4 separate regions of the Homo sapiens genome follow, and all the other regions are linked to region 1. Evidence: promoter capture Hi-C in 16 types of primary human blood cells and fetal thymus (Javierre and others, 2016). All regions are on one chromosome and are shown on one strand. Each heading gives the region's core, a stretch centred on a gene start or on the middle of the fragment in contact. The rest is flanking DNA. Distances are from core to core; before and after follow the strand shown.

Region 1 (4,714 bases), core at 884-3,383:
TGTCAGCTGCATGGCTATAGTTCGCCATAGATGGATGGAGGATAAGGATACAGCCTCAGTCAAGTCTCATGATCTAGATATAAGAACAAGGAAAAGATAGATCCATACATTTTACTGAAAATATAATCCACAAAGAGAACTGATCTGATCTGCAGTCATGCTTCCTCTTTTCTTCCACTTGTTTTGCCATCAGAATATCTGAAAAAAAAAAAAAAAAAAACCTATCAGTTCTTAAGTTAACAAGCAATGATGTCAGACAGTGCTAACAAAGCTGTTCACTTATGGGGAAGCAAATAAAGTTTTAATTTTGAATACTAATATTTGCTTTACTAAATATTTTTGCTCGAGATTTCAGAGAATTGGCTTGTTTAGTTTTTCAAGCTAAGTGAATTTTAAAATGTCCCTATTTTGGACAATATACATTTGATAGGGTAACTTTAGGAGAGAAGGAATAAAATGTCCCATTCTTGTAAAATATGCCAGTCCAGGAATTAACCACTAGAATTGCAATGGAATCTACAAGATTGCTATTAGGAGGCAGAGACACTACCTACATTTATTTGAGATCTATTAGTATCTGTCAGTGTTTCACAGGCAGCTTCTCTGTTTGATGTGGGTCCAAAGAACCCGTGCAAAATATATCTTAAGTGCCACTATTCATGCTGCATAAGAGTATTTGTTGATTCATCTTAAAGCAAAATTTCAAAATTAACTTCAAAATTAATAGGAACTTACTTGTCCCAAGATTTGATGTGATTTAATCATTTGTCTTTCCCTCTCCACCCTACCCCCCATTTCTGGCAAATCTTTTAAGCCCACATGATTATTAAAATGGTTAATGTAAATATTGGACAGGGAAACACACCCAGAGGAATAATGCACTTCCATTTGTAAACCTTGGCTGCCTGGATTCAAATGAATATAACATGAACCTGTATTTCTTGGGCAATTAAGCCTTTCCCATTTACACTGATAACCTTTGTTGCAAATCACAAGTGGCTGCTTTTTAAAACAAAATGCACATTGTCTCGCAGGTGCCTGGACCACACCAGGGAAATCGGCTTCCTCTGTTATTCCCACCAAGCGTGTTTCTTTTGCCACTTCTCACTGGCCCGGAATATGCTGGTGGAAGCCCAGGCAAAACTGCGTTCGATGATTTTAATTTCCCCACCGGTACATCCTCGGGTAAATACCGATCGCATCATGCAACATTACGAAACCTGAAATCCGCCACCCCTGGATTTATAATGGGGGGAGGGTGGAGGAGGGGGAGAGGGAGAGAGACATGCATTACATACGCGAAGATGGGGAGAGAGATTGCTTCTGTGCTGCAAAGGAACCGTTCCCGGTGATTCGCAGTCTGATATTCCTCAGTCTTGTAAGGCTTTCCAGAAATGGAGCTCTCAGTAAGCCCTACTGAAGATGCATTGTCTGAATGTACTTCCATTATGCAGTTTATTGTCACAAAACACATACACACACACACACACACACACACACAGAGACACACACACACACACACACACACACAACCTGAGGGAGGGCTCTTTCTCGGTGAACCTGCAGTTTCATCAACACTGTGCATTCCCCCACATCCCCCAAACTTAACCAAGAGTATATCCTCCTACCTGTTGGTGTTGGATATCCCGACAGACTATAGCTTCTTTCTATAAATTGCTGATTTTTTTCTTTTTTTCTTTTTCTTTTTTTTTTTTTTTTTTTTGTTTTTTGTTTTTTTTTTTTTTTTTTTTGCCTTAGTGCCTTGACTGAGCATCCAGGCAGGGCTCGGCGGCGCCTGCGCGCTGGAGCCTCCTTGAGCTCCAGCCGCGTCCTCCCCTGTCGCAGCGGCACCGTCTCCCCCAGTAACGCAGGGGCCGCGGCGGCGGCGGCTGCGGTGGCGAGGGCGGCGGCGGGGCTGCTTCAGCCTCTGTGGAACCAGCAGGAACCCCTACCTGACTCCAGAGCTGGCTGGGTTTATTGACTGCCCTGTCCAATCCAACTGGCAGCATTAAGCTTTTGTCCCTTCGTGGCTGCTTCTGAACTTTTCCCTCCCCGCATTTGTAGTGGGGGGCTGGAAAGGCCCTTTCAGGACCTCAGGCCCATCCTCTTCCCAAAGGCAGCGCACGAGGAAGTCACAGTGCCCGTGACGCCCGCCCCCTCCCTCAGCTTCCCGGAACCCTAACCTTCCCCAGACACTTTCTTCCCTTTTCTTTTAGGGTGGTCCAAACCACCGGAGGCTTCTTTTATATATTTATTTTTAAGTGATGTCTCCAGCTAACCTTTAAATTTGCAGGTTAGCTGGAAAAAGACAAGAAAAGAATGGGAAAAAAGAAAAAAAGTTATTTATTTATTTATTTATCTTTTTCCCACAGTTAAAAATCTTTTCAATGGGGAAGAAGGGAAGGCACGTTAGGGCAGCTCTCTCTTTGTTAGTCATCTTCTATTCTCCAATGCACGCAAATATGCGTAAAAGTAGGGAGAAAGCTAAGTTCAGAGGACAACTACAATATGATTTACATTCAGTCTACCTTAAAGGATGTCACTAAAGAATCAGGCTTATAAAATGTTTAAATGGCTATTCCTGGCATTCCACCCCACCAAGCAACAGTATTCCTTTTCCCTTCTTACAAGTTCCGCTGACCAATGATGGGTGATGTCAAAGCAGTTATGTGTACGAGTTTCCTTTTTTCCCCTTTGTTATTACAGATGAAAAATACTAGAAATATAACAAATACGTAAAACTTACACCAGTCCAAACGGTCGGATGATACCACAGACACCACAAAGCCTGACACGTGGGTGCTTAGGAATGCCTCTAGAATCATGCATTTTCTTATTTTACCATTTCCGAAGAGTTTTGTTTGTGGAGGTGATATAAAATTTTAAGCAACAACTTCCCAGTTCTCCTACCCAAAACTAGCAGACACGCTTTCATTAATTCCCAATGTAAAACGTCTGCTTCTTTTTCTGCATGCTTTTTGCTTTATAATAATCTGTTAATGAAACAAAAAATAAAAATCTTCTCTACAGTAATAATCTGATCTTGAGACAGCAGTAAAATACCTCATTGCTGGGTGGTGAGATTGTGACATTCAGGGGAACTCAGGCCAATCAGCATACAGATAATATGGGTTAATTTACATACTGTATTTCTATTGGATGAGCCGAGGTAAAGCCTTATCTTGATGTCACAGTCGTTACACAAAGCCCTATGTTGGTAATACTGAAATGATGTTAAATTTCCCTGATTTGTTCTTGAATTTCCTACGTCCATTTAAATACATGGATAATAGTTTGTTTTTTTCGAAAAGAATATACACAAGGCACTAAACTTTGGCATTCCCTTAACCTAGAAAAATCAATCCTACAGCCATGCTGGAAGTAACTTGAGGGCATTTCCATTCAAATAAAACATTCCACTTTTTGCAAAGCAAATGAATTCAAAACTCAAAACCATGTGGTGGTTTGCAACTTCTAAGTAAAATGTCAAATTCGTTTTTATGAAACTACAAATCACTTCAACTTGTGCTTTTTTGCTTCCCAATAAATGCTTCAATGTACTTTGCAAAGAGTTATTTCCTGAATTTTTACAGTTTTAAAAAATGTATGGAATAAGAGGCTTAAGTTTGCTGAAGATTCATGATTGGTCAGATGTTAGGTTGTACAGATTAGGGAAAAGCTATTTTAAAGTAAATTAAAAGAGTCACTGCACTGCCAGGCCATGAAGCAGTAATATACTCTGCCAAAAGTTATAGGGCCAAGATCCAAGGGTTTTAACTAGTCTTATTCTTTAAGCAGATATTGATTCCTTAAAAATAAGGGAGAGGGTATATGTGTATGCAATATTCTTTCATATCCACATCTCAGGGTATAGTAAAGCTATTTTTTTCCTTTGCAGTTGAGCACAGTTACATCCACTAATTCTTCAGCTTTTCCAGCTGTTGGATAAGAATGTCATTTTCTTGCCTCACAAGGGGACTCAAGAAATTAATGAGATATTTTCTATCTAGCTCATTAACTCTACTGGAGAAAACATTGGAAGCTACATCTTTCATCAGCAGGGCTTTAAAAAATATGTTTAATAGCTGACAAAAGTTTCATATCATCTACAAGTTCTCAAATGTAAAGTTATTGCTTCAAATTGTTTAGATCATAGGCTTAGTTGGTCTTAACTAATTTCTTTTTTTTTTATCCCCTACATCACCAAACCCAGAAAATTTGATTTTCAGGTTAAGAGTAAAAGAACAAAGCAAATACAACAAAACTATATGCTCTAATCCTTGGGTTTGAAGGGTTCTGAAGATTTACAAACTGTTGGAATATTACATGTACTATATTGATCAGTGTATTAGGAAAACTGATATAATTTGCTTAATTTGGTTCTTATAAAAAGTACATACCATTTTATTTTAAAAACCAATGACCTTGCTTTCAAAATTAATCTATTTCAGATTTTTGCCAACTGATGCATAGTATCATGATCAGCAAAAACAGTGTTTTTTTCTGTGCATTGTTTACATGAAAGTGTGTGTCAGGAAATAACACTTGGTAATTGCAGAGAATAATAGACTAGAATAAACATTCTAAATAAAAGATTTTTAGTAATTCATTTCAAATGACATGTCTTCTGCTTAAAGCATAAAACGTGTGTCTTTGGTGCTCTCAACTGTTACCAAAATTTAAAGTTGTATATGAAAAAGAGCCTTTTTAAAGT
Region 2 (4,714 bases), core at 1,291-3,790, 620 kb after region 1:
TGTCAAGATCTAAAAGTGAACAAATCACTTTCTTTTTCTTTTCTTCTTCTTTTTTTTTTTTTCCTGGGCTCAAGCACTCAAGCAATCCTCCCACTTCAGCCTTCCCAGTAGCTGGAACTACAGTTGCATGCTACCACGCCCGGCTAATTTTTGTAGAAACAGGGTTTCACCATGTTGCTCAGGCTGCTCTTGAACTGCTGGCCTCAAGCAATCCACCAGCCTCGGCCTCCCAAAGTGCTGGGATTACAGGCGTGAGCCACTGAGCCCAGCCCAGATCACTTTCAATTTGCTTTTCAGCTATAATATAGGCACAGTCCAAATAGCCAAGTAATATAAACAAATCAAAACATGAGAATCACTTTCCAAATGATATTGCATGCAGGAGGTAAGATTTAAGAGAAATCAGGGAGTGAGGCAAGAAAATAAAAGAGGGAAGTTCACTTTTTTATAATTGTACTTTTATTACTGGGTTAGTCAGATATTAAAAATACATGTTAATTTCTAAACTGACAACCTAAAATCTACAGAATTGTGTTAAAGTATTGCTTTTTAATATTTATTAAATGAATAAATGGATTCGTTCATTTAATAACTATTAGTTTATTGAATGTCAGATTTGTGCAAATTATGGTGCTGTTTACTTTGATTATCTAAAATAGAAAACACTCTGCTTTGATATGTATGACTTAAAATCTCTATTCATTGTCCCTTTCTCCACTTGGATTGTCAATATCCACCTAAAATGTGTGAGAATTTCAAATTCCAATGGAAATTGGCTTATGTAAGCCAGAATCAGATGCAAGATTACATCACATATTTAGGGTTTCATTTTTACCTATGATTAAATTATTATTTATTTAGCAAACCATCAGAGTATATTTGCCTCTTTTCTTATGGATATACACCTTTTACAGTAAGTGCTCACTCTGCCTATCAGATTTCATTTAAATTCATTCAGTAAGTCAGGGAGTCCCTGTATCAGTATTTCATTGCATTACATTGCCTTTCTAGTGCATTTTAGCATCCTCATAATAAAGCTAATTGTGAACTCATTACCACTAATTGCAAATTTGCTTTTATCCCACTTTATTGAAATATTTTAATAAGTTTATGCCAATAATTTTATAACCTAATATTCATGTACTTTATCTGTTAATCACTATAACCTGAATTAATCTAGCTACATATCTGATTTATTTAATATTGTTTAGTGATCCCAGAGGGGTTACAACATATTTCAGAATCTTATGTGCATGAGTTTTCACTTTTCTTAGAATTTTACAGTAAGATTTTGGCTTTCTGTGTTTAATTTTTAAAATAACATTTAAAAGAAAATTTTGAGGTTGCCAAACCCCTTGCTTATCACATAGAATTGCTGACTTCTAAACAGTGCATGTATGGCTTCTCATTTGCTGAGTTCTTCACTATAATAGAAATGTTGCAAATATGATCACTACCACCCCCAAAATACATTTCCATCCTCACCCTTGAAGACTTTGAGATGCAAGTTTCACCTATCATTGCACTGGTATAATTTTAAGTTGCTCTCTGTATTACAAAAATTGTTTTAACTAGAATGAATAAACTTTGCCCCAATTCTGACTGCTGATCTCATTATTCAATTGCAGAGTTAGATTCACACATCTAACCCTTTACTTTCTTGGCTAAATATACTTAACCTTTATTAACTGTCATAAAGCATGGTTATTATGAAACATAAACGCAAGTGGATTGTACTGAAATGAACTTTGAGGAGTCCTGTGTAGGAGCTTATTGAATGTGTTTTTCAAAATCTAAGCAGCTGAAATGAGGTACACGATTTCAGGTCTCCATTTTTTTCACTAATTTCAAATACACTGCCATCAATAAGCATAGCAAAAGGCAGATCACAAGTGATACAATGTATTTTCTTAACCAAAATGGAACTCCACTGTTAACAATAAGGCAAATTATTTTGTCCTTTGAGAAAAAGTCAGGAGAGCAAATACTGTCATGTAAGAGTCTTTGAGGGGTAAAATCTGGTAATAAGTCTAACTGAAGCTCCACATCCTAAATGGGATTGATATATAAATATTTAAGGAGTGAATTTATTTAATTAATCTTAAGCAATCCACATCTCTCCAATCTTTACATTTGGGGCAACCTTGACTTTTGATCTATGTCTTTTAAAAGCTTCTGATAGAACTAGATATTATCAGCATAGAGAGCAGTTGTACATCCATTACTAGTAGGAATTATCTATCCCTTAAGCTAATGATCTTTAGCATCTTTGTTAATAGCCCTGAATAGGGAGTATAACCCACTAATGCATTTTTGTAGATTATCTAAAGGTAGGAGTTTCAGTGTATACCAGTTTAAACCAGAAAACTGTTCTAATTGACCTTGAAAGGTTAAAAGAATAAACAGGAAAAAAAAGTTTAAAAATATGAACCTCTGAAAACTAATAAAAAAATGAGGATTATTCATATAAATATGAAATTGACAACAACAACTTGGAAAAGCATATACAGAATATTATCCATAGCTGTTTTAGAACAAGACAGAAGTTTAAGTATAATGCTCATTTTAAAACTGGTGCTAATTTAAATTGTATCTATATGATTGTTTTTAACTTAGGAAAGCAATTACGTTTTTTATATAATTGAGAAGTTAAATCTTTTATCGGTTGAAATTGACTTAATCTAATAAACCTCAGGTTATTTTTATTCCTGATTTTTTAATTCCTAGAAACCAAGCCAGGCAATGGATGGTCTCTTCAACAAACGGCACTGGGAAAACTAAATATCTACATGTAAAAGAATAAAGTTGGGTCTTTACCTTATACCACATACAAAAATTACTCAAAATGAATCAAAGACCTAAATGTTAAGAGTAAAGGCTACCAAACGCTTAGAAAAAAACATAGGAGGAAGCTTCATAACATTGGATTTAGCAGATTTCTTGAATATGATATCAAAAGCATAGGTAACAAAGGAAAAACTATATTATTTGGACTTGTCAAAATTAAAAACTATTGTGAATCAAAGGGCATTTTCAATGAGCAAAAATGCAACCCACAGAATAGGAAAAGATATTTGCAAATCTTACCTCTGATAAAAAATTAATATTCAGAATATATAAAGAACTACTACAACTCAAAATGAAGAAAACAACCTGATTTTAAAATGGCCAAAGAACTTGAATAGACATTTCTCCAAAAAGATAAACAAATGACCAGTAAGCCCAGGAAAGATGCCAAATATCACTAATCATTAGGGAAATGAAAATCAGAACCACAATGAGATAACACTTCACACCCACTAGAATGGTGATTAAAAACAAACAAACAACAACAACAACAAAAAAAACACCAAAACCAGAAAATATCAAGTATTGACAAGGATGTGCAGAAATTGAAACTCTTATGCACTGTTGGTTGGGATTTAAAATGGTGTAGCTTCTGTGGAAAACAGTATGGAGGTTTCTCAAAAAATTAAATATAGAATTAACACGTGATCCAGTAAATCTACTTTTGAGTTCACCTTCAAAATAATTGAAAGCAGAGACTCAAGAAGCAGATATTTGTGCCATGTTCATAGCAGCTTTATTCACAATAGGAAAAAAAGGCAGGAACAACCAAAATGTTCATCAACTGATGATTCAATAAACACAATGCAATATATTCCTACTGTGATGGTTAATTCTTTTTTTTTTAACCATCGACATAATCACTTTATTAGATTATATAGCAATTAAGGGCTTTTTCATAGTTACTAAAGAGCACTGTCAATTACATATAAAATATTTTAAGGGTTATGATATCACATAAAGATTTTATCAATTTTTTTGTTTTTATTTTTATTACTTTATTTTATTTTTATTTTTATTATACCTTAAGTTCTAGGGTACATGTGCACAACGTGCAGGTTTGTTACATATGTATGCATGTGCCGTGTTGGTTTGCTGCACCCATTAACTTGTCATTTACATTAGGTATTTCTCCTAATGCTATCCCTCACCCATCCCTCATCCCCCAAACCCACAAAAGGTCCCGGTGTGTGATGGTCCCTGCCCTGTGTCCAAGTGTTGTCATTGTTCAGTTTCCACCTATGAGTGAGAACATGCGGTGTTTGGTTTTCTGTCCTTGCAATAGTTTGCTCAGAATGATGGTTTCCAGCTTCATCCATGTCCCTACAAAGGACATGAAATCATCCTTTTTTATGGCTGCATAGTATTCCATGGTGTATATGTGCCACATTTTCTTAATCCAGTCTATCATTGATGGACATTTGGGTTGGTTCCAAGCCTTTGCTATTGTGAATAGTGCTGCAATAAACATACTTGTGCATGTCTTTATAGCAGCATGATTTATAATCCTTTGGGTATATACCCAGTAATGGGATGGCTGGGTCAAATGGTATTTCCAGTTCTAGATCCTTGAGGAATCACCACACTGTCTTCCACAATGGTTGAACTAGTTTACACTCCCACCATCAGTGTAAAAGCGTTCCTATTTCTCCACATCCTCTCCAGCACCTCTTTCCTGACTTTTTAATGATCGCCATTCTAACTGGTGTGAGATGATATCTCATTGTGGTTTTGATTTGCATTTCTCTGATGACCAGTGATGATGAGCATTTTTTTATGTGTCTGTTGGCTGCATAAATGTCTTCTTTTGAAAAGTGTCTGTTCATATCCTTTGCCCACTTGTTGATGGGGTTGTTTGATTTTTTCT
Region 3 (4,714 bases), core at 1,310-3,809, 570 kb before region 1:
CATTTGCAGAAAAGTTCTTCAATCATTTTTGGAGGTGGTAGATTTGTTCTTAAGAAAACAAAAATAGATCAGCTCTCCAAAATGAGGCTGCGTGTGAGATCGTTCCACTGAACCTTTACTCAGATGCCAGGCCCTGCGTGCAAGTCTAATGATCCCTCACTTCAGATATATATGAATTATTAAGGTCAGTTAATTAACACATTTTTCTTCTGCTGAAGTAATTAGATGAATAGAGCTCTTGCCCTCTTTTTGGCTTTCCTGGCAGTTGCTCAGGGCTGAATAGAGGCAGTAAACATATTGCCAAACAGATGCTAACCAGAGAAGTAATTTTTCAGTTTCCATTTGATTTCTGAAGTGTTATCCTGCAACTGAAATAAGCTCCTACTTGGGGATGGTAGGGGAGGGCAATGCGGAAAAAGAGAGAATGAGGTGAAGAATGGGCAACAAGCCCCCACACAAATCTGCCTGAGAGCCTCTGCTAGATACCCAATGTTCATGTGTCATTCCACCTAATTTTTTTAATACTTCCTTCACAACATCTCTATGTCATTTGTACAAAAGTTATCCAAAGGGAATATTTATTACAGCTGTTTGCATGAATATTCCCAGGCCATTTCCTTTCTGTCCCTGGTGTGGCCACAACATTTTAAGTGGCCAGAAATTAGGATTTGGTACGTTTAAAGTGGTTTGTCTGTAATACGTGTCTCTTGATTTTTCTAGGTCAGTGGTTCCCCAGACTGCCTTTGTACTAGAATCATCTAGGGGCACCTAAGAAAGAACACCTTCCCAGCCTTTACCTAAGATTGATGATCTCAGCATCTCTGGGGACTGGCCTGGAAATAGGAGTTTAAAACATCTCTCAGGGTAAATCTGATGCTCAGTCAGAGTGTGGGAGGTGCTGTTCTTCGTAATGGAGATGGAAGTGTCGACACTCAGGAGCTCTCCTTCTCTTTGCAGACAGGTGAACTGTGATCATTCTATACCCTGGGCCTAATGGCCAGTCCAGGGAAGCCTCCTGAGTTGGTCCAGTCAAACACACGAAATGGCATTGATGGCTTGGTCTGTGGGTGTGATATGCATTACTCAGGATCGCTTGATGTTTTTGTCTCCAGGGCCTCTGCTGGAGCAACCAGCATTTTATGAAAATTGCCTTCTGTGGGAAGTCTGGCCGAGGAGGCAGTGTCCCACAGAAGAGAAAGATAAAGACATAGGTAGCAACTTTCAGACTTCCAAGAGCTCCAGTTTTTTCACCTGTGAAACAGGTTTAATCATAACCCATGCAGCTGTAAGGCAGGAACAAGGTGATGTGTGTGTGAGTCCTAAGTAAGTTTTAAAGTACTGTATTCATGGAAGGATGATGATGATGGTGATACTGATTTCAGCAAAACTCTGATAGAGATAAAGGAGTATAATGGAGGGTTGGAGAAGAAGGGATAGAAATTGTGCTGTCCTTAAGGGTGGGGCAGGTGGCCTAGCAGCGTCATGCCTGAAACACAGTCAATAAATGTTTCCTTGCTGAACGCTGCCTGGCTGAAATTCTGTGTGATTCCCCTGGTATGTCTTTCCCATATTTAGTAAAATGTAATGATCACTTTTCCTGGTTTTAGCAACATTTTGCTTTCAAAAATATCATGGATGCAAGGAAGTTCCCTCACAGTGATTTGCCATAGCTCCACACCTCCCGGGAATGGTCCTGGAGACAGGCCTGTGCATCGAGGCACGTGGAGTGGGCTGGTCTATAGCACCCACCTTAGGAACCTGGGGACTTCATGAGGGGCCCGACTGCATGACAACTTGCTAGAATTCCCAAGAAAAATGATGGAGGAAGCATTATGATCGGTGGTAGGGCTCACAGACAGTAAAGATTAGAAGCCACGATCAAAAGAGGGGATGAAAACGGCTCCAGTTGAACTCTTTTTGAAATGGCAGAGTTGAGGCACATGGGCTCTATAGCTGGGATCCTGGGTCACATTCGTTGACAGTTGGGAGGGATAGCAGGACCTAAGTGCTTTATATGCATTATCTCACTTAATTCTTATAACAGCTCTAAAGCAATAGTATAATAAGAGGGGCACAATCCCTTATTTACAATTTGGAAACCCAAAAATCTTTGAAAGCCTCAAGCTTTTCATAATTCATTTGAATGTGAAATGAACCTGACCTGAAATCTTTTGACAGCAAAACCTAACTAGAACTTATGTGAGACTTTTTCTAGTTTTGATTTATCCCACCTGTTGTAAATATTCATGTTTTGCTGCAGAAATATTAATGAATTTGATTATAGAGGAGTGCATCAGAGCTCACTGGGTGTGTTACATAATACATGGCATATACACCATGCTACTGTTCTATCATCCAGAAATCTGAATTCTGAAAACACGTCTGACCTCCTCCCAGAGTTTGGGAATAGGGATTTTCATTCTGTTTCTCCACTTTCACAGAAAAAAAATGAAGCTTAAATCAGTGAAGTATTAGGTTGGTGCAAAATTGCAGTTTTTGCCATTACTTTCAATGGCAAAAATCGCAATTACTTTTGCATCAACCTAATAATTTGCCTAGGGTCACAAAGCTGCTAAGTTGGGAACTATGGTTGTGCCCCAAGTCTGTTGTGAGATATTCTGCTAAGAGTTGCTGTTTCTTCCTTGGTTTTGAATCCCTTTCCCAAAAGCTTTCCTTTTTGTTGTCCTGGTTTGTGTGGCAGGCTCCAGGAGGAGGTATGTGTGTGTGTGCATCGTGGGAAGTAGAGTCAGGTCTTCCTGCTTAGCTACCCATACTCAGGCTGCCTTGTTCTGTAAATACCTTGCGTTTTTCCTAAAACACAAGTCTGATCATTCCACTCACCTGCTTAAAAGCTTTTAGTGTACTATTCATAATAGCAAAGATAAGGAATTAACCTAAATGCCCTACAACAGTAGACTGGATAAAGGAAAGGTGGTACATATACACCAAGGAATACCATGAAACTACAAAAAAGAGCGAGATCATGTTCTTTGCAGCAACATGGATAGAGCTGGAGAGCATTATCCTTAGCAAACTAACACAGGAACAGAAAACCAAATACCACACGTTCTTACTTGTAAGTGGGAAGTAAACATTGAGTACACATGGACATAAACAAGGAAACAACAGATACCAGGGTCTATTTGAGGGTGGAGGATGGGAAGAGGGTGAGGATCGAAAAACTACCTGCTGGGTACTATGCTGATTACCTGGGTGACGAAATCATCTGCACACCAAAACCCCATGACACACAATTTATATAACAAACTTGCACATGTACTCCTGAACTTAAAAGTTAAAAAACAAAACAAAACCCTTTTAGCACTGCTAGAAGGTCAAGTCCAAACTCCTTAGAATGGAATATAAAGACGCCCTGCACTGGTTCCCAACTGGCTGTAGTAGCATGGGTGGTTAAAAGTATGGACTCTAGAGCTGTATCGCAGGGTAAAACCTTTCTTCTGCTGCCCCCTAGGTGTTTGTATCCCAGGCAAGTCTTCTCTCTGCCTTAATGTTTTATTTTTTATGTTATGTTTTTTGAGGTAGAGTCTCGCTCTTTTGCCCAGGCTGGAGTGCAGTGGCACAATCTCGGCTCATTGTAACCTCTGCCTCCTGGGTTCAAGCGATTCTCCTGCCTCAGCCTCCAGAGTAGCTGGGACTACAGGCGCCTGCCACCACACCCGGCTGATTATTGTATTTTTAGTAGAGACGGGGTTTCACCATGCTGGCCAGGCTGGTCTTAAACTCCTGACCTCAGGTGATCCACCCGCCTCAGTTTCCCAAAGTGCTGGGATTACAGGTGTGAGCCACCACACCCAGCCTGCCTTAGTGTTTTATCATGTAAGGCTGATTTAGTCATCCACTTCCTAGTGTTGTAATGAGGCATGAATGAGTTAATACAATGTAAAATGGTTAGAACAACCTACACAGTAGGCACTCAAATGACACTATTGTTTTCATGGTTTCTCTGGCCTTGTTGTTGCTGCCCGGACTCTTCCTGTCCCCATCTGACCACACGCTTCAACCATTCCTTCCAGAACAAGGAAGACTGAAGCAGCCTGCTCCCCCTGCTGCATGCTTTTTCCTTTCCTTTGTCCTATTGTCTGCCTGTCAAACACCTGTTTATCTTTGACAACTGAGTTCAAGAGCCATCTTCTCCTTAAAGACTTCCCCAGTTTGCTTTCCTCCTTCCTGTCCTTTGGGTCTCCACGATGCCACATTTGTATTTCTGTCACGACCACCGACAGTATTTTAAAGTCCTTATTGGTGTCCTGATCTGTTTCTTTGCCTGAATTTTAAGCCCCTTGAGAACAAATCCCCTATATGTTTGTATCTCCAGTCCCTGGCAGAGAGTCTGACACAAGCCACATAATCAATGTGTGTGGGTAAATGCTATAAAGAGAACTCGTTCCAACTTGGGTAGGAATTTCTGCTATGGATGCCATTTACAAGCGACAGAACCCACTCTTGCTAATTTGAGCTGAAAAGGAACATATTAAAAGACAGCTCACAGAATTTCCAAGAAGCCACAGAATGGGGCTTTGGATGTTTTATAGCCAGGAATACGATGCAAGTCACATCAGTGGGTTGTTCCGGTGGTGGTCCTCCTGCCATGCTGAGCCAGGACAGGGATTTGCCTTGCTGACATTGAGCATGGGGCACTACCTTCAGACCGTTGCCCCTGCTCCCGCTGAAAGCAGAACATCTCTGTGGCCAC
Region 4 (4,714 bases), core at 688-3,187, 520 kb before region 1:
TGTCCACTCATTAGGATAGTTTGGGACACGCCTTCCTCCACTGCTAAGCCTACACCCTTGAATGTTACCAATTACTTCCTTATTGACAAATGTTTCTTTTACCCTCACACTTTCCCTTCTTTCTATTGTACTATACATATTGAATGATCTCCTACATCTCCTTTTCCCACCTTCAAATTATTTCTTTCTAGAACTATAGTTCAAAGTATCATTCTAGTTCAGAAAAGCTTTATTTCAAACTGAATGAATTTGGTCAGGAAAGCTTTATGTTGAATTGGAAAAGCTTCCTAAATTTGAGGCAAGCTACTCTATAGGAAATTGAGGTTCTTTTGATGCTGTTATATCTGCAGGTCATATATTTCATTATTTTACATCTGAAATATATCTTCCAATGATGATAGTTTCTCTCCTAAAAGGAGATAGGATCTTTATTGTGTGTGATTTATTTGGGGGTAATTTTTTTGTTTGATACACATATATCAGAAGGAGACCTGGATTTTCTCATTTAATCACTGAATATTTCACTTTTTGATATTCACTGATTCAAGCCCTTTGGCTCTCTGGGTATGAGGGAAGAAACCCACTGTGTCAGAAGTAATATAAATTGCATTCTAACTTTTTCAGTTCCACCTTCTCTTACCTTAAAGGGAAGACCACCAAACTCTCTGAATTTTTTTTTTTTTTTTTGAGATGGAGTTCTCGCTCTGTTGCCCAGGCTGGAGTGCAGTGGCGTGATCTCGGCTCACTGCAAGCTCTACCTCCTGGGTTCACCCCATTCTCCTGCCTCAGTCTCCTGAGTAGCTGGGACTACAGGTGTCCGCCACAACACGCAGCTAATTTTTTTGTATTTTTAGTAGAGACGGGGTTTCACCGTCTTAGCCAGAATGGTCTTGATCTCCTGACCTCATGATCTGCCTGCCTCAGCCTCCCAAAGTGCTGGGATTACAGGTGTGAGCCACCGCGCCCGGCCCAAACTCCCTGAATTTTAACACAGAAATCTTTCTTCTGGGCCCTCAACAACATCCTTACCATATAAAGGCACAAACTGCTCAGATATTTTGTATTTGTATTTTCACATATTTCTCAACTCTATTTTGTGTACACTCATCATGGAGTTACTTATTTTGGGAATTGAGTATCCTATGAAATTCATTATCAAGTTTATTATAGAAATATTTTATCTTTGCTGGTTTTTTTTAGAATTACAAAAGTTAAAAAATTTTTTTCCATATGTTTTGCTTACACAATAAGGATATTTGTGTTATGTCTACATAAAAAAGAAACGAGTTGTTAAAAAGAGGGAAAATAGTCATTATGGTGGTTGATTTATCTATATGCCACTAAACAATTGGTTTGGCAGACTTCTCTTAATTGATTCAATTATCATTATAAAATATGGTCTTAATATCTACTTGATAATTAATTTCCGACTCAAAACCCCACCTTCCCTGCCTTTAGAAATCTGCTAATAGAAATGAAGTTTCAAAAATAAGTATCAGTGAAATTGAAGAATCTGGAGTCCAGATGAAGGAAATAGAGCCAGTTCATGTAATGAAGTTCTAATTCATTCAGCTTTAAGACTATACAAAATTTGGGTTCCTCAATTCTTTTTTTTTTTTTTTTTTTTTTTTGAGACACAGTTTCACTCTCGTTGCCCAGGTTGGGGTGCAGTGGTGTGATCTCAGCTCACTGCAACCTCCACCTCCCGTGTTCAAGTGATTCTCCTGCCTCAGCCTCCCAAGTAGCTGGGATTACAGGCATGCACCAACATACCTGGCTAATTTTGTATTTTTAGTAGAGATGGGGTTTCACCATGTTGGCCATGCTGGTCTTGAACTCCTGACCTCAGATGATCCATCTGCCTTGGCCTCCCAAGTGCTGGCATTACAGGCATAAGCCACCATGCCCACCCTTGAATTCTTAAGAATATGATTTAGACTTGGATCTGGTAGTAAATACCCATATTTACATTTATCATCTATAATTATTATTCCATTAGAGCAGGCGAGATCTGCATTTTAATCATGATGGATAAAGAATGAGAAGTGAGATAACATCTGAATACATTTAGTGAACTGTAGTTTCTATCTAACTTTTAGTAACAATTGTTATTGTCTTAACTACCTCTGAAAGTCAGGCTAACTCTCCAATGCTAATGTAAGAAGCATGCAGTCTGTGGCAGGCTGTATCAGTTAGGATCCAGACAGGAAATAAATGGCCCACTTAAACCGAGTAACAGAAAGAGTTCAATGAAAGGACCATTTACAAAGATGTAGGCAGGGTAGGCAAGGTCAAAAGGAACTTGTAAGGAATGATAAAGCTAGCAACGGAAGGGAGTCATTACCTCCTAGATCTGAGGCCGCAAGAGAAGGAAGTAGAACTGATATATACATATATGAGAGATGGAAGACACACACACACACAGGCAGAGAGAGAGAGAGGCTATAGCAGAATTGATCTGATGGGGGTTGTGGCCTTTGGTAGAAGAAAAGAGCCAAACAATAGCCAGAGAAAAAGATACCCTAGTCTCGCCTCCTCTTCTTCACTTGGATCTACTAGTGCCTCCCATTGGCTGAACTCAGCTGTAAGCCAGAGGGCAGCACTGCTCATGATGCAATTAATCAACAAACCAGTCCCTAGGCACAGAGCAGAGAAGAGCAGGGTGGAGAATAAATTTGTTCTGGAAGAGCAAGTGAAATACATCCAGTGTCCAGGCTAAGACTGATATCTATATCATCCCTCAATTCACCAGGGGTTAATTAACTTTTATTGGTCCAGATATTGACATCACTCCTTCCCTTGAATGCCACCTGTTACTTCCTTATTGACAAATCAAATACTTCTGTCACTTTCAAACTTTCCTTTCTTTTTATTGTATATCTTGGATGATCTCTTCCATTTCTTTTTCCCACACCAAATTATTAATTTCTAGAACTATAGCTCAGACCTTCAGTCCAGAAAAGCTCCACCTTGAACTGGATGAGCTTGGCTTGTTAAATTTGGAGTAAGCCACCTAACAGGAAGTTGAGGTTCTATCTGATGCTGCCCCACAAAAGAATATGTAAAACTTACAAGAGATTGTTGCCCTGGGTGAACATTGAACCATGACTTCTAAAGTCTATAAATATTGTGAGTTGGAAGCCTGACAATATTGGCAACATGCCAAGGTACATAGTAGCTATCTTTATGGATCACTAGCTGCTGTACCAGTCTCACCTGAAAGTGATCAGATAAATGCGTTCTTTCATGTTATATGGGAAAAGAGAGAAAACAAAGAGTCATATATTTTTCTGAATTTACACAGGAACTGCTGTATCAAGCTGTTAGAAAATCTTGATGTCCTTAAAACACACCTTGTCACAGTATCCAGCCTTATTATTTTTGTCTTGATATGGTCAGAGCCCTTTGAATAACAGCCCTGAGAAAGTTTACCAACACACTTTACCACAGTGAGATTACCTTTAAGGGGACATAATTTGGCCCCTGCTTTCCTCTCTGATTTCATCTTTTACTATTCTCCCCAACACCTTTGTGCACATTTGCACACACAGACATACACACCCACAGACAGATACACTCCTCTCCACCATACTAAGCTTCTTTCTTAACTCTAGGTTCTGCACGAGCTGTTTCCACTGCCAGAAACACTTCCTCCTCCTAGTATTTTTCTCAACCTGCCACTTATTATATTGTATCACATTTGCTTATTAATGACTCTAGGTTTTGAATGCCATGAGAGCGGGGGCTATTTTTACTTCTTTGTCATTGAATCCTCAGGACTTTGTCTGGTGCCTGGCACATAATAGCTTCTCGTTAACTGTTGAATTCATTAGTGAATGAAGGAAATAGCAACAGGAAAAGTTTTATTCACCAGTGTTTATCCTAAGGTTAGCTCTGCTTAGGATGATCTCATTTGTGACTGGATGAGAAAACTGGCAAGTGTCTGAATAATTCACAAATGCAAGTTCAGCTCCTGAATAAGCAGTACAATAAGCAATGTGTTGTACTGAGAGAGCACCTAACTGGCTAGGCAATTGTGAGGAAACTGGTTGCTACTAGAGCTTCTCATATCAGATGCCCATCAGAATCCCTTCAAGTTACTAGTCCTAACTACTGAAACCAGACCTTCTGAATCCCAGGCCTTCTGCGTCAGCACCCTCCGTGGGGGATGGGTTCTGAGTCTGTGTTTTGTTATCTGCCCCCTCCATCCCCTAGGTGGTGGTTTTTGTGCATACGGGACTTGTGATCTTGCCATGGGAGTGAGTCATCAACAACCTTAAGTTTGTAAATTATATTTGCAAGTATTCAGTTTTATTTTTTAATTTTTTATGACTTGTAGGCTTTTCCCTAGGGAGATGTTTAATTTTCTTTCACTGTTTTGTGTTGCAGGGTCTTATTCACTTGATTAATTTTTAATTGGAGAATCACGCTATTTCCAGACTATGAGTAGAGAGAGCTTTGTACTGCTTTCCCAGTGGAATTCTCATTAATATACTTTCTCTGTGGTCCCCATGGACTACCAATTTCCTCATCCTCCAATCATATTTGTTCTGTTGAGAGGGAGGCAGAAATCTGGATAAAGGTAAGCCCAGCCAAGCAATGTTGAGATGTGCTAGGCGGCAGTGGTAAAACCAAATTTGCATGCCCGTAGGTATGAATTCACTCTCAGGTTTCCATGGAATCATCCAGTGTAGTTCTGTCCCTTTGTTTTTAC

What was found. Contacts are between HindIII fragments. The CHiCAGO score rates a contact against its expected background, and 5 or more counts as called.
Region 2: a fragment that was not itself captured here is called in contact with the fragment with the promoter of GPR85 in region 1 in 1 of 17 cell types (endothelial precursors); the score reaches 5.9 in endothelial precursors.
Region 3: a contact is called between a fragment that was not itself captured here and the fragment with the promoter of GPR85 in region 1, in 1 of 17 cell types (M1 macrophages). The highest score is 5.6, in M1 macrophages.
Region 4: a fragment that was not itself captured here is called in contact with the fragment with the promoter of GPR85 in region 1 in 1 of 17 cell types (neutrophils); the score reaches 5.6 in neutrophils.

The regions. Positions count from the first base shown.
Region 1 is chr7:113,084,694-113,089,407 of GRCh38, forward strand. GPR85 (G protein-coupled receptor 85) reads right to left here and starts at 2,134. Exons shown (of 3, transcript NM_001146267.2): 1 at 1,629-2,134; 2 at 1,299-1,416; 3 at 1-198. The coding sequence starts at 28. RefSeq lists a silencer at 1,820-1,879. The HindIII fragment of the contact is 6,967 bases long and covers 2,012-4,714 here.
Region 2 is chr7:113,700,186-113,704,899 of GRCh38, forward strand. No RefSeq gene overlaps it. Among named protein-coding and RNA genes, the nearest start is that of PPP1R3A, 220 kb to the right of the region's middle. The HindIII fragment of the contact is 740 bases long and covers 2,171-2,910 here.
Region 3 is chr7:112,512,742-112,517,455 of GRCh38, forward strand. No RefSeq gene overlaps it. Among named protein-coding and RNA genes, the nearest start is that of LSMEM1, 34 kb to the left of the region's middle. The HindIII fragment of the contact is 214 bases long and covers 2,453-2,666 here.
Region 4 is chr7:112,569,741-112,574,454 of GRCh38, forward strand. No RefSeq gene overlaps it. Among named protein-coding and RNA genes, the nearest start is that of LINC03076, 46 kb to the right of the region's middle. The HindIII fragment of the contact is 3,313 bases long and covers 282-3,594 here.